Linked DNA regions of Homo sapiens: region 1 is linked to region 2. The links are contacts of gene promoters, found by promoter capture Hi-C in blood cells and fetal thymus (Javierre and others, 2016). All regions are on one chromosome and are shown on one strand. Each heading gives the region's core, a stretch centred on a gene start or on the middle of the fragment in contact. The rest is flanking DNA. Distances are from core to core; before and after follow the strand shown.

Region 1 (3,123 bases), core at 175-2,674, 79 kb before region 2:
TTGAGAAGTCCAGCACATACGTACTGAATAGCCTGTTCCTGGGAAGCTCTATTACAGTGAATGGAACACTGTAATAAGGAAAGGGTACAGGTTTCTTGAGATGATATATATTAGCTGTGCCAGTAATTCAGTGACAATCATTAGATCATGTGGAAATTTCTGATTTCATCATAGTCATCATCATCATCATGAGCTGCAACTAATAATTCTTTTTCAATTACCAGTTAAAATTTATTCATTTATTTCAGTGATACTGAGTATCCAGTTATAGGACTGTACTTTTCAATTAAATAGGTCTGGTTTTTTAGAATACTGCAGAGGGATATGTATAGTTAGATAAAACAGAAAATTCTAAGAAACATATAAGACACATTATAATTTGAGTTACATTTTTCCTGGTGTATTAGTCTGTTTTCATTCTGCTGATAAAGACATACCTGAGATTGGAAAGAAAAAGAGGTTTTAATGGACTTAGAGTTCCATGTGGCTGGAGAGGCCTTGTAATCATGGTGGAATGTAAAAGGCACATCTCACATGGTGGCAGACAAGAGAAGAGAGTTGTGCAGGGAAACTCCTGTTTTTAAAACCATCAGATCTCATGAGACTCATTCACTATCACAAGAGCAACACAGGAAAGACCCGCACCCATAATTCAATCACCTCCCACCGGCTTCTTCCCATGACACGTGGGAATTGTGTGAGTTACAATTCAAGATGATATTTGGGTGAGGACAGAGCCAGACCTTATGATTCTGCCCCTGGCCCCTCCAAAATTCCATGTCTTCACATTCCAAAACCAATAATGCCTTCCCAACAGTACCCCAAAGTCTTAACTCATTTCAGCATTAACTTAAAAGTCCACATTCCAATCTCATCTGAGACAAGGCAAGTCCCTTCCACCTATGAGCCTGTAAAATCAAAAGCAAGTTAGTTAATTCCTAGACACAATGGGGGTACAGGCACTGGGTAAATATAGCCATACCAAATAGGAGAAATTGGCCAAAACAAAGGGGCTACAGGCCCCACGCAAGTCCAAAATCCAGCAAGGCAGTTAAATCTTAAAGCTCCAGGATGATCTCCATTGACTCCATGTCTCACATCCAGGTCTTGCTGATGCAAGAGGTGGGTTTCCATGGTCTTGGGCAGCACTGCCCCTGTGGCTTTGCAGGGTACAGCCTCCCTCCTGGCTGCTTCCATGGGCTGGCATTTAGTGTCTGCAGCTTTTCCAGGTACATGGTGCAAGCTGTCTGTGGATCTACCATTCTGGGGTCTGGAGGACATTGGCCCTCTTCTCACAGCTCCACTCAGTGGTGCCCCAGTAGGGACTCTGTGTGGGGGCTCTGGCCCCACATTTCCCTTTCATATTGCCTTAGCAGAGGTTCTCCATGAGTGCCCTGACCCTGCAACAAACTTCTGCCTGTACATCCAGGCATTTCCATACATGCTCAGCAATCCAGGCATAGGTTCCCAAACCTCAATTCTTGATTTCCGTGCACTGGTAGGCTTCACAGCCCCAGGAAGCTGCCAAGGCTTGAGGCTTGCTCCCTGTGAAGTCATGGCCTGAGCTCTGTATTGGCCCCTTTCAGCCATGGCTAGAGTGGCTTGGACACAGGGAACCAAGTCCCTAGGTTGCACACAGCACAGAGACACTGGGCTTGGCCCAGTAAATCACCTTTTTCTTCCTAGGCCTCTGGGCCTGTGATGGGAGGAGCTGCCGTGAAGGCCTTTGACATGCTCTGGAGATGTTTTCCCCATTGTCTTGGGGATTAACATTCAGCTCATTGCTACTTATGCAAATTTCTGCAGCCAGCTTGAATTTCTCCTTGGAAAATGGGATTTTCTTTTCTATTTCATTGTCAGGCTGCAAATTTTCCAAACTTTTATGCTCTGCTTCCCTTTTAAAACTGAATGTCTTTAAGAGCACCCAAGTCACATCTTGAATGCTTTGCTGCTTAGAAATGTCTTCTGACAGTTACCCTAAAGCATCTCTCTCAAGTTCAAAGTTCCACAGATCTCTAGGGCAGGGTCAAAATGCTGCCAGTCTCTTTGTAAAACATAAGAAGGGTCACCTCTGCTCCAATTCCCAGCAAGTTCCTTATCTCCATCTGAGACCACCCCGACCTGGATGCTATTTTCCATATCACTATCAGCATCATCTTTGTCAAAGCCATTCAACACATCTCTAGGAAGTTTCTGACTTTCCCACATTTTTCCTGTCTTCTTCTGATCCCTCCTGACTGTTCCAACCCCTGCCTGTTACCCAGTTCCAAAGTTGCTTCCACACTATCAGGTATCTTTAGCAGCACCTCACTTTACTGGTACCAATTTACTCTATTAGTTTGTTTTCACACTGCTGATAAAGACATACCTGAGACTGGGAAGAAAAATAGGTTTTAATTGTACTTACAGTTCCATGTGGCTGGGGAGACCTCACAATCATGGTGGAAGGTAAAAGGCATGTCTCACATGGCAGCAGACAAGGGAAGAGAGTTTGTGCAGGGAAACTCCCATTTTTAAAACCATCATATTTCATGGGACGCATTCACTGGTCATGAGAGCAGTGCAGGAAAGACCTGCCCCCATAATTCAATCACCTCCCACCGGCTTTTCCCCATGACATGTGGGAAATATAAAAGTTACAATTAAGATTTGGGTGGAGGCACAGGCAAATCATATACCTGGATCATTTAAAATTATTTTTTTTGTGAACTCTGATTAATAGATAATTTAATTATCTTTAGCTTATTACTTTGTGGGAAGATAAACATAGATGTATATGATCTTTACTGAGTGCTGTTATGTGCCAGCCAGTCTACTAAGCATCTTACAGGTACTAACCTATTTATTTTTCACAAAAACTCAGTGAAGATGGCATATTATCACCACTTTACCAATAAATAAATGAAAATTTAGTAAAACCAGCTATTAGGAATTATACAGATAACTAAATAGCAGAGCTAGGACTTGAAGCCAGGTCAGCCTGATTCCTAATTCCCTGGTCTCAGGCAGTTGGCCAAACTGGTATTTTTGTTTTTCATAGGCTTATAGTCATTAATTTTTCCTATCAGTAGACTTTGATGCCTTAGCACTGTTATTTTCCAAGACAGATACAGTGTGTGCTTC
Region 2 (2,892 bases), core at 52-2,551:
TATGCAAACCAGTGGAGGAATTTATCATGGTGATTTTTTTCTGGTTTGAGAATCCATGCCTTTTCCGATTGTTAAGGTGGTGGTATATATCCACTAAAGTTTATGAACTACTGTGTGCAGTTCCGAAATTCTGACTAAATGTTCTACTTGCCTCTTATTGATATGATACTTTGCCAGTCTCACATTGATCTACAAAGTATGATCCCTAGGTTGATCATTGGTAGTTCTGCTACATTTAAGAGTAGCAAATGAATTAATATGTACTATTATTTGTTTATATTTTATTCTAATTGCTTTATCATAATAAATGACTAATAATTCATTAATAATATTTAATAAGTGGATGGAATAAACGTGACAAATTATCACAGGGAGCTTCATAGAAAGTCAGCTCTCATAATTAAGGCTATCACCAGAATGCATTTGGGCCAGAAATGTGGTTTGCTGATGTTATTCTATCCAAGTCACCACTTTAAAAAATAGTAACAGGAATTCTGCTAGAAGATGAAAAGTATTTTTACAATACTTTTGGAAATTTGGAATTAATATATTTTAAAATAAGCAAATTCATTAAATATAAAAAGAAGGTAAAATATGTGAATATTATGTGTCAGGAGAGGAAAACATGAATTTTGAGATACGGTGGGTAATTGTTTCTAATTGCTTTCTCAGATGCAAAGAGAACACCACAACTAATAATATAACCAAAGTGAGGATGATGGAAGAGAAAAAACTTTACTACTCCAAGAACATAAGCTACATATGAACTTGGAAGAAAATTTTTAGTCCCATTGATTAAGAAATAAATTAGTCAAAACATACAGGCATATTTGCAAGTAAATAAAGACATTTTCATCGGCTTCCTCACTGCATAGCCAACCTTCCCTAACCATTCCTGGCCACTCTGTGGTTTAAGGACTGCATTTATGGAGGTAGAGGAGGATATTGAAAAAGAAAAAAGAAATGTTTCAAGAGGCAGGAAATATAAGCTTAATGTGATCACAGAGAAGCTAATCATCAAGTTTAAATTGGGATTTTAAGTAAGCAAAAGCCACAAAATTAAGAGAATATCTCCTTAAGGCTCATGATTTTACTTGTTGGCATCCTGACACATAGCAATATTAATATTTTCCTGGACATATGGCTAAGAGATTCTTGAGGGTTTTTTTAATCTTAATGCAAATTAGTTGTGAGAATGAGTCCAATGTAGATTGTGGTTTCCTTCACATATAACTCAGGTTGGATAAAATAATTTGTACAAATCAGGAGAGTCAAATTTCAGAAACTACTATCTGCCTCAATTGAACTCCATCTTCTGACACCATGTGCTACTACCACAACTATTATGGTAGCCTGGACTATGGTTGCAGCTATGGCTCTGAATATGGTAACTCTGGATATGCCTGCAACTTTCCGTGCTCCTATGGAAGATTCCTATTGGCTCCTAGAAAGAAATTCTGATTGCTGATCACTTTGAGCCATTTTCTTGTGATGCACTAATTGCATCAACAGGGTTATTTATGGATTCGTTATTGTCTCTCCAATTTTAACTAACTCTAATTATTGATTACCACAGGTCATATTTGCATTGGATTAGTGGAATTTCCTACCAGTTAGTGGGAAAATCCTTTGATATTTTGTTAGTTTTATGTGTTTATGTCTGTTATAATATTAACAATTTCCATGCAGGAAAACTTATAAATTTGCATTTTAATAAATATAATCACTTTCACAATATGTATTGCTTATCATATATATTCATTTCTCTTTATCATTTGTGTATTTGTGTGTGTGTGTGTGTGTGTGTGTGTGTGTGAAAGAGAGAGAGAGAGAGAAAGGGAGAAATAGAAAGAGAGAGTGAAATTGCTACCTGTGGCTATTTTAGTCAGTGATGTGACAAAACAGGCAACTCATGACTGATGTTTTTCCAAAAATGTTTGTATAAAAGTAATTTCAAGTTCAGTTTCAAGAATACTGTTCTCTATATTGATCTAATGCAAGTTTCATTTTAGAAAAATTCAATGTTTGACCTAGGTAATTGGCAAAACCAGTAGCACTATTACCCACCAAGCTATTTTCTACTGCAATTTTCTCTCTCCTAATAGTCTACATTTAAACATGTGCTTCTGTACTGATACAACTCCAGCCCTGCATTGAGTACTCTGACCTCTTTTCACTCACTCTTATAGATAAGAATCCTCTATATGAAGCTGGTTGGTATGCCTGATAATCCTGTGTTTCCACAGCAAAGATCACCTCATTTAGAGATCTAAGTGACTCTTTTGAGTTTTTCTAACTCTGATCATCTTCTAGCAGAATTCCTGTTACTATTTTTTAAAGTGGTGACTTGGATAGAATAACATCTTGCAAACCACATTTCTGGCCCAAATGCATTCTGGTGATAGGTCTTAATTATGAGAGCTGACTTTCTATGAAACTCCCTGTGATAATTTATCATGTTTATTCCATCCACTTATTAAATATTATTAATGATTAGTCATTAATTATGATAAAGCAATCAGAATAAAATATAAACAGATAATAGTACATATTAATTCATTTGCTACTCTTAAATGTAGCAGAACTACCAACGATCAACGTAGGGATCACACTTTATAGATCAATATGAGACTAGTGAAGTATCTCCCAGCCCCCAAGTGCAGGCTTTCTGAAAGCAAACGGAAGTGAAAATACTGTATTGCTGTCTATTCCTTCCTCCCTGGAGTGAAAAAGTCAATCCATTAGCAGTTCCAACCCAACTTGCCCAACCAGTGACTGGGCAGAGAAGTTGGTGATCATTCCTCTGGTGAAAAATGAAAATAAGAGGGAAGTGATTCCATTTTTACTAAGATATAGGTTGGGGCTCTGCTCATTATTTGCATAAATTATCCC

The links. The method cuts DNA at HindIII sites, captures the fragments that hold promoters and counts their contacts. A CHiCAGO score of 5 or more calls a contact.
Region 1: a contact is called between a fragment that was not itself captured here and the fragment with the promoter of KRTAP22-2 in region 2, in 1 of 17 cell types (neutrophils). The highest score is 5.2, in neutrophils.

Annotation. Positions count from the first base shown.
Region 1 is chr21:30,667,561-30,670,683 of GRCh38, reverse strand. No RefSeq gene overlaps it. Among named protein-coding and RNA genes, the nearest start is that of KRTAP20-3, 26 kb to the right of the region's middle. The HindIII fragment of the contact is 8,660 bases long and covers 1-3,123 here.
Region 2 is chr21:30,588,806-30,591,697 of GRCh38, reverse strand. It overlaps KRTAP22-2 (keratin associated protein 22-2), which reads left to right and starts at 1,301. Exons shown (of 1, transcript NM_001164434.1): 1 at 1,301-1,593. The coding sequence starts at 1,324. The coding sequence ends at 1,461. The HindIII fragment of the contact is 4,540 bases long and covers 992-2,892 here.